Regions from separate parts of the Homo sapiens genome. Here regions 2 and 3 are each linked to region 1. Evidence: promoter capture Hi-C in human tissues and cell types (Jung and others, 2019). All regions are on one chromosome and are shown on one strand. The core of a region is centred on a gene start or on the middle of the fragment in contact, and the rest is flanking DNA. Distances in the headings are between cores, read along the strand shown.

The links. The method cuts DNA at HindIII sites, captures the fragments that hold promoters and counts their contacts. A contact is called where the count stands out against the background at its distance.
Region 2: a fragment that was not itself captured here is called in contact with the fragment with the promoter of SLC24A2 in region 1 in 2 of the 25 tissues and cell types used here (dorsolateral prefrontal cortex and hippocampus).
Region 3: a contact is called between a fragment that was not itself captured here and the fragment with the promoter of SLC24A2 in region 1, in 4 of the 25 tissues and cell types used here (adrenal gland, dorsolateral prefrontal cortex, lymphoblastoid cells and 1 more).

The regions. Positions count from the first base shown.
Region 1 is chr9:19,787,686-19,790,385 of GRCh38, reverse strand. SLC24A2 (solute carrier family 24 member 2) reads left to right here and starts at 1,349. Exons shown (of 11, transcript NM_020344.4): 1 at 1,349-1,501. It overlaps LOC124902128 (a long non-coding RNA gene), which reads right to left and starts at 1,227. Exons shown (of 2, transcript XR_007061432.1): 1 at 1,108-1,227. RefSeq lists an enhancer at 1,786-2,433. The HindIII fragment of the contact is 14,556 bases long and covers 1-2,700 here.
Region 2 is chr9:19,590,891-19,593,590 of GRCh38, reverse strand. All of the region lies in intron 5 of SLC24A2 (solute carrier family 24 member 2), which reads left to right. Among named protein-coding and RNA genes, the nearest start is that of MAP1LC3BP1, 130 kb to the right of the region's middle. The HindIII fragment of the contact is 5,373 bases long and covers 1-2,700 here.
Region 3 is chr9:19,570,808-19,573,539 of GRCh38, reverse strand. SLC24A2 (solute carrier family 24 member 2) reads left to right here. Exons shown (of 11, transcript NM_020344.4): 7 at 71-189. Among named protein-coding and RNA genes, the nearest start is that of MAP1LC3BP1, 110 kb to the right of the region's middle. The HindIII fragment of the contact is 6,097 bases long and covers 1-2,732 here.

The DNA.
Region 1 (2,700 bases), core at 100-2,599:
AAATGATGACATAGGAAAAAGGGGTATAGATGAAATATGACTGTCCATGAGTTCATAATTGTTCAAGCTGGTTATGGCCCCATGGAGATTCATTATACTACTTTCTTACATTTGTATATGTTTGAAATTTTCTAAATTAAAAGTTAAAGATAAAAAAATTCAGTCAGGCACCTATAGTCTGCAAGCACTTGGGAGTCTGAGGCTGGAGGATGGCTAGAGCCCAGGAATTCAAGACAAGCTTGGGCAACATAGCAAGATTCAGTCTCGAAAGGAGAAAGAAAAAGAAAAGTTGAGTCTTGAATGCCTGGCTTTGATTGGGGGGTGGGGGGAAGAAAAATATTTCTAAGTTCCCTAGGCTTCCCTTTACTTATTGATGAGTAGGCCCAGAGGTCTGACTACAGAGCTGTACTCTAAGTCAGAGGTCATGAGCTCTCAGGATATACCCATTACCCCCATTGTAAGGAGGGCATGAAGAAACCCTCTTGGATGGGGGAGAGAACAGAAGGATGGAGGGTAAGGAGAGGGGAAAATGTGCGAAAAGCTTTCAGAGCTTCACGAGTTGGGTACCTCTTGGCAGCTTTGCTGGTGGTCACAGGGTTGGGTAAAAGGGGTTCCCTCACTACCAATTTGTCTTACCACCGTCTTCCATTCTTTGGCCCAGATTCTAGTCTCTCATCCCCAACAAGCCTGATTCTATTTCTTGTGGTCAAGGGGATCTTGCTTTCCAGATAGGACAGGAAGGAGCACTGGGCTGGACATCCCGAGGCCAAAAGCCGAAGCCTGTCAGTGATTCAAAATGACACGGGGTTTTGGGTCTCACTTTCATCACCCATGAAATGAAAGGTCACCCTGCAAGACTGAAGCCCCTGCAGTGTCCCAAGCATCCAAATCCAACACTCAAGAAACCCTGGACCCCAACAGCCTGTCCTGCAGGCCTCCGTGCCTTTTCATTGAACGTCTTTTCCACCATTACACATCACATCGCCTCCTAAAGAAAAGCGCGACTGCTATCACTTTTTGCAGATAATTGGAGAGGCGGTGCCCAGCATAAGATGACCCCAAAGTTGACAGCACTTTCAGGCTTTGTGAATTAGGCGCGTCACCGACCTGTACGATTTCTCCTCTCTGCCCTTGCTCGCCTGCAAATCCTGACCCCCGTCCACACTGCGGAGAAATCTCCTAAGAGACGGCTGCCAGCGTCGCCTCTGCGCCCAGGAGGCGTGGAGCAAAGGACTCGGGAGCTGAGCGCGCTGCGGCCCCGCTCCCAGCGCACAGCGCACAGCCCAGAGGGAGGGGCCGGCGGGGGCCGGGCAGCGCCAGACTCGGAGCGCCGGGCTCACAGCGGCTCAGTCTCCTCCCGAACCCAGCCCGGCTGGCGAGAGCGGCAGCCAGTGCGAGCCAGAGCCCGGGCCTCAGAGCGGGTAGGCGGAGGGCCGGCGGACTGGAGCGGCGGGCCGCGCTCGGGGGCCCCGCCGTGTGCGCGTCCTCCCATCTTATCCTGGTAAGTGCGGGCGGCTGCGCCCCGCCTGCCGCTGTAGCCGCTGTGGCGGTCGTCCCCGCATCCCGGTTGCGCGCATCCCGTTGCTGCTCTGCAGGCTCACAGGTGGCTCTGCCGTGGATGTGGGCGCCCCAGGCCCCGCTAGGAGTTAGCCAACTCTCTGTGCTCCGGGGCGTGGATTTGGAGCCCCCGCCTCTCCTACCCTTGCTTTTGGCTTGGGATGGGGGGCGTGGGGCAGGGCCTGCCGTCGGGGGAGACGCGCAGAGGGGCGCTTCCATTCCCCAGCCACCTACAAACGACTCAGGGGGATGCGGGCCAAGCGCCTCACCAAATGCAACCCAGCTCCAAGCTCACAGGTGGGGCGTCTGTCCTTTAGATTTATTTTCCTATTAATCCACCAGGGAAAGTTTGGGACCACGCAAGGCAAAGTTGGGGCGCGGCTGGGGGCGAACATTCTCCTACGGAGGCAGCTCCCGGGGAGACGAGCGGTGGGTTTTCAGGGGGAGCGAGGATCGGGCTGGAGATGACTTTGCGCCCGGGGAGTTGAATCTGTCCCTGCTGGTCGCCCGGGCCGGGCATTTACACAATCCCCTGAGTGCTGTGAATCGCTTAATCGTTCCTGCTAAGCGTTGACGTTCGCAGCCACCTGGGAATCTCCGTGATGGGGTCGGGTTATCTCAGGAGTAGCAGCAACTCAGCGGGGTTGATTTGTGCTCTTGCTTTGCTCTGAAAACCTGAGCTCCAGCTAATCTCAGTATTTAAGTGGCGTGTGTTTAATTAGCTTATTTTACACCTGAGATTATCTCAGCGACTGCCTCCAAAATGAAATCGTTGATATGGAAAAGAATAGTCTTTTTAAAGAAAAACTAAAAAGAGAACTCTTCAGAATATCAGCTGTCAAGTCTGGCTATTTTACCCATCTCCTCCGTGGGATAGAGAAAGAAAACTCTGCTTTGGATATCTAACCTATTAAAGTCAGTGGTGGGGCTATTTTGGGCAGATTTTGTGGACAGAGGTATTGCTACAACTTGCGTATTGTTTATGAAATACACATGTGGTCTCTCGAAATAGCCTACTTGTTATTTCACTGCATTGGGAGTTCTTTGACTTACTAAGCTGCCTATTTTAAATATGACTAAAGGTTGTTTTTTTAAAAAAAATATTTAGCTGAAAACAATGTCTAGATGTTTAGGGAAGGCAGC
Region 2 (2,700 bases), core at 75-2,574, 200 kb after region 1:
TTTCTTTCTACATGAACACTGTGCCATGAAAAGGTTATTTTAATAAAACAATATACTTACTCTCACACGCAAGACAAAATCATGACGTTTGAAAAGTTTCTCCTTGCCCTCCGAGCCCTTTCCCCCTCCCCTGTCTCCCTCAGCCCTAAGATGCTCTAGAACCTCACTGGAGCAGCTCCCGAGGCCACACCCAACCTCCTCTCCCCACCCCAAGCCAATCCAAATTTTATCTACTTTTTTATTCATTCTTTCATGAATTTGTTCATCAATAGCCAGTATGTACCAGGTGCTGGATTGGGGGCAGAGCGGAGGAGATTAAACACAGTTCTCCTAAAGAACTCATGACCTTGTGGGAGACACAGGCATGAGATGAGTAGACCCTAGGTGCTGGAACAGCCCAGTGGAAGGCATCTTTCTTATCTTGGGAAGTGAGGGCAGGCAGAATTCATAAAGCTCACAGCACTGTGCCTGGCAGGCGATGTCTCCACTGCCATGTTCATGTGTCCCAAGATGACAACCTGTCTTACCTGCCACCTGTACTAGCACATTCACTTAATAATAACTGAGCACCTTCTCTGAATGAGACATTTTGCTAGACATGATAAATTAGTGAGCTTTACTCCTCCCAGGGACTTTGCCCCTGTAATAAGATGTTTCTAGGGACAAAAATGTCTTTTGGTAACTTCAGCTACCCCTACACAGGCAGCAGTCACCTTATCTTCTCATACAGTGATACTGCATATTTTTGGAAGAGCAATCTCCAACTTTTAAAGTTAATAATGCATAGCTTATTTCTCATCTGCAGATACCCAAATTTCATACCATTCTTACTCTAGAAAATTCTCAATAAATTGAACGTGGCTCTTTTCCTAAAATTATTCTGAATAATAATATAGAATGCTAGTTCAAAAGTAGGCAAGTTTGTGTGATGGGACAGATGGATTAAAAGGAGAAAAGACCTTTCCACCAATGGCAGTATATAGAATTAGTAATTTTTGCTCTTCAAAGGTAAATGTTTCACAGAGACATGTAGGTAGATAGGTAGATAGGTAGGTAGGTAGGTAGGTAGGTAGGTAGGTAGGTAGGTAGGTAGGTGGGTAGGTAGGTAGGTAGGTCGGTAGATATCCCAACTAATATCTTGCAATGAAGCAATATGTGGGGAAAGCTGTCTCCATTGTATTGTCCTAAACTCTCTGCCATTTAACCAAAGACATTTCCAGAAAAATAATTTCACCACTATTTAAAAAGTCAATCCTTGTTCATTTGTATAAGGGAGAAAATGGTAGAAAAGTTGTGATATCAAGGGCAAAAAAATTATAAAGACCTTTTCCATAATTAAATTAAGCTTACTGTTTCATGGCAACCAACTGCCCCTTTACCAAGCTGAAAAACTAATAATGTCTTACATGAATCATGGGGTCCTAAATTAGGCATGTGGCTGTTTTGAAAACCCCCATTATTTCAAAGAAACAAAAGTATCTTAAGGTCACATTGTCTAGCCAATCATTTGATGTTCTTAGTTGCAGTGAAATAGTCTAATTATTTTCAAAGAGAAATTAAGTTTTGGAATACCATTCAGCAATGTTTTTCATTGCCCAGGATATATCAACTAAATAATGTTACTTTAAAATAAGTCCTTCTTGTTATCTGTGACCTTCATAGGACATTGTAATCCTTGCATGAAAGGATGAGATTGTGTCATACACACTGATACATCAGGCAAAATAGCTTTAGCTATATATAGCAGAAAATCCAAATTAACAGTGACTTAAATAAGATGGAAGTTTATTTTTCTCTCAAGTGTAAGAATTCGAGTAGCAGACAAGACATGGCAGCTCTAGCAGCTCCACAATAATTCAAGACCCAGGCTCCTTCCATCCTTCTGCTCCACCACCCTCGTATATGATTTGTAACCTCAAGGGCACCTCATGGTCCAAGATGGTGGCTGTTGAGCTCTGGCCATCACGTCTGTATTCTTGGAAGGAGGAAGGGTCAAAGTGATTTTCTCTAGATATTTTGTCTTCTTTTTAAGGAGCTTTCCCTGAAGACCCTCTCAGTAAAATTTGCTCAAAACTCAGTCACATGACTACCTAGTTTCAAGGCAATTTGGAAATGTAGTTTGTTAAACTGCATGAATTGCTGTCCCCAATAATTTAGGCATTATGTCATTAGGAAATGAAAATGGAATAGATATTGGATAGGCAACTTGCAGTCTCTTCTCAACAGGGACATCTCACTTTCATATAACTGTGTGTTGGTGGAGAAGACTGAGAATAGAGCAAGCTATAAGAGGGAGCTTGAGCACTCATGTTAAATTTAAGATGCCTATGAGACATCCAAATGGAGATGTTGAGAAAGTGGTGGGTGTAGGAGTATGGAGCATGGGATAGAGGTCAGGCAGAGCTGTAGATGTAAATTTGGGGGTCATAAAATATGCGTGTTATTTAAAAGCTACAGAACTGGACTATAATACCTAGCTAATTGATAGAGAAGAGAAGGCCAAGAATTGAGCCCTGGGGACTCCAAAGTCTAGAGTCCGGGAAAAAAGGGGAGGCCCAGCAAAGGAGACTGAGGTGGGAAGAAAACTAGGATAGAATGGTGTCTCTGGAGCCGAGTGAAGAACACGTTAAAGGAGGGCAGTGAAAAGGTGACCGCATCAATGAATTGACCAGTAAGATCAAAGAACATCTACTACTTTCT
Region 3 (2,732 bases), core at 218-2,717, 220 kb after region 1:
CTCTCTCTCTGTGTGTGTGTGTGTGTGTGTGTGTGTGTGTGTGTGTGTGTGTGTTTAAATTATATCACAGAAAAAATTGAGCTTCCAAACAGCACCAGCACAGATGTTGAAATGACACCATCCAGTGATGCTTCAGAACCTGTACAAAATGGAAATCTCTCCCACAACATTGAAGGTGCAGAAGCCCAGGTATGGCTTTTCTCCATTGCTCTTCTGGGCTGTTGTTCTTAACTGATATCCTAGCGTGGCAGCACAGACCCTATATTCTCCTTGGAAGCCCCAGCTCTCAGCTGGGCAGGAATCAGGTAGGGCCTTATACATCCTTGTGTGTATTTCCCAGTGCCACCCCAGGGTCCCACATGCAGCAGCCTCTACATTTATTGAATGAATATGAATATTCTCTAAGCCACTGTTTCTCCAGGTGAGGTTGAAGGACTCATGCATCAGTATCTCCTGGGGATGAAAATGTAGATCCCTGGGCCATATACCAGGTGTGGTGAAACAGGATCACTGGGAAGCAGCACGTCGGAATTAGCATTTTTAATTAGCATCCAAGGTGATTTTTAATGTATGATAAAGCTTGATACCTGCTGCAGTTTAATCCTTTCTCTGTGTCTTTAAGGTCTGTGTTAAGTAATAGAGAAACCACAGCCATCAGACTCAGTGAGCCCCCTTTGGCTTTCTCTGTCCCTGTGGTTGAAATTAACACTCTCTGGCCCAACCCATTATTCAATGGCACAACCACTTGAACTTTTCAGTCTAGTAGTTGTAAAACCTAACATTTATCAAACACCTACTATTTGCCACAGCTTCGGTACTAGGCATTTTACATAGGTATTAGTCCATTTTCACACTGCTATAGAGAACTTATGAAGAAAAGAGGTTTAATTGACTTATAGTTCCACAGGCTCAACAGGAAGCATGACTGAGAGGCCTCAGGAAACTTATAATCATGGCAGAAGGTGAAGGGGAAGCAAGCATGTCTTACCATGGCAGAGCAGGAAAGAAAAAGAGGGAATGGAGATGTGCCATACACTTTCAAGCAGCCAGATCTCATGAGAACCCACTCAGTATCACGAGAATAGCAAAGGGGAAATCTGCCCCCCAGATTCAATCACCTCCCACCAGGCTCCTCCCCGCAACATATGGGGATTACAATTTGAGATGAGATTTGGGTGGGGACACAGAGCCAAACCATATCAACATATGTTATCACCTTTAACCTCACAGCTGAAGGTGTAGGCATTAGTAGCTCCATTTTTTTTTTTTTTTTTTTTTTTGAGACGGACTCTCACTCTGTCACCCAGCCTGGAGTGCAGTGACTCAATCTCAGCTCACTGCAACCTCCACCTCCTGGGTTCAAGCAATTCTCCTGCCTCAGCCTCCTGAGTAGCTCGCACCACCACACCCGGCTAATTTTTTTTTTTTGCATTTTTAGTAGAGATGGGGTTTCAGTTGATCAGGCTGGTCTCGAACTTCTGACCTCAGGTGATCCACTCGCCTTGGCCTCCCAAAGTGCTGGGATTATAGGCGTGAGCCACTGCGCCCGGATAGTAGCTCCATTTTATAGTTGAGGAAACTGAAGCTCAGTGAGATGAAGTAGTTAATTGGGGTTACCTAGTTTGTAGATGGTAGAGCTGAGATTTCATCTCAGGACCGTCCAACTGTACAATTTCCACCACTCTCTCTAGAACACAGTTGCTCAAAATGTAGGCAGAACCACCTTTGGTGCTTGTTAGATTTCTGGATCTCATCCTGATCAGGCGAATCAGAATTTCTAAGACCTGGAGCCCCAAACTTGCATGTTAATTAGGCATTTTAAAACTTGCATTTTACCTAGCTCAGTGTTTCTCAAACTTTAATGTACTTACAAATTCTCTGGGGAGGTCATCTTAAAATTCACATTCTGAATTTGTCAGGTCTGCCATGAGGCCTAGAGTCTGCAGTTCTAATGAGCTCCCCAGTGATGCTGATGCTGTTGGTCCAAGGACCATACTTGGAGTAGCACTACCCTAAAGTTTGAAAGCACTCTCTAGACAGAACTTCCCCCAATGAGCTGAAAAGTGATACAGTGCCTGCAAATAGAAACCAGACTACAGTCAATATAACCTAGCAGCCACTTCTTAAGAAAAAAAAAATGCTAATTGTTGCCTGTTACCCTTATTCTCTGATAGAAATTACGTATTTCTTTCCTAAGGAAAGTTTCTTCATTTAACAGAAAGAATAAGGAGCCTGCCACTCCTTCTGCCCTTGTCTCCTCTGCCTTCTATGCTCCTTACCTTCCTGCCCAGAGCCCTGTGGTCCCTTTGCATTAGCTCAAGAGTGAGCTGGCAGAGCAGCTTATGTCCACATGGATAAGCAGCGTGTGGCAGCAGGAGGCAGGCCCCAAGGACATCTGGCTGCCCTTGGGGATGGCACAGTCATAGGTGTGCAGAGGGCAGCCTCATCCCCATGCCTCTCCATCTGGCTGACAGAGGGACATCTGTGCCCCTGCAAGGGAGGACCTTGCTGCAGGGGAGCAAAAGAGTCCCAGATGACCCCTCTCTGAGCAGAGCTGTGGCCCTAGGTCTCCACAAAGGGGAACAGGACAGATTTGTGCACCACCCTGCTAGGCTCAGAGTTCAAGAGCAATCAGGTCTTCACTTACAATCAGATGACCTGGACCTCAAGAGCAATCAGGTGACCTGGGCCTGCAGGTCACCATGGCCCACTGTAGGACAGCCTGGTAGTGA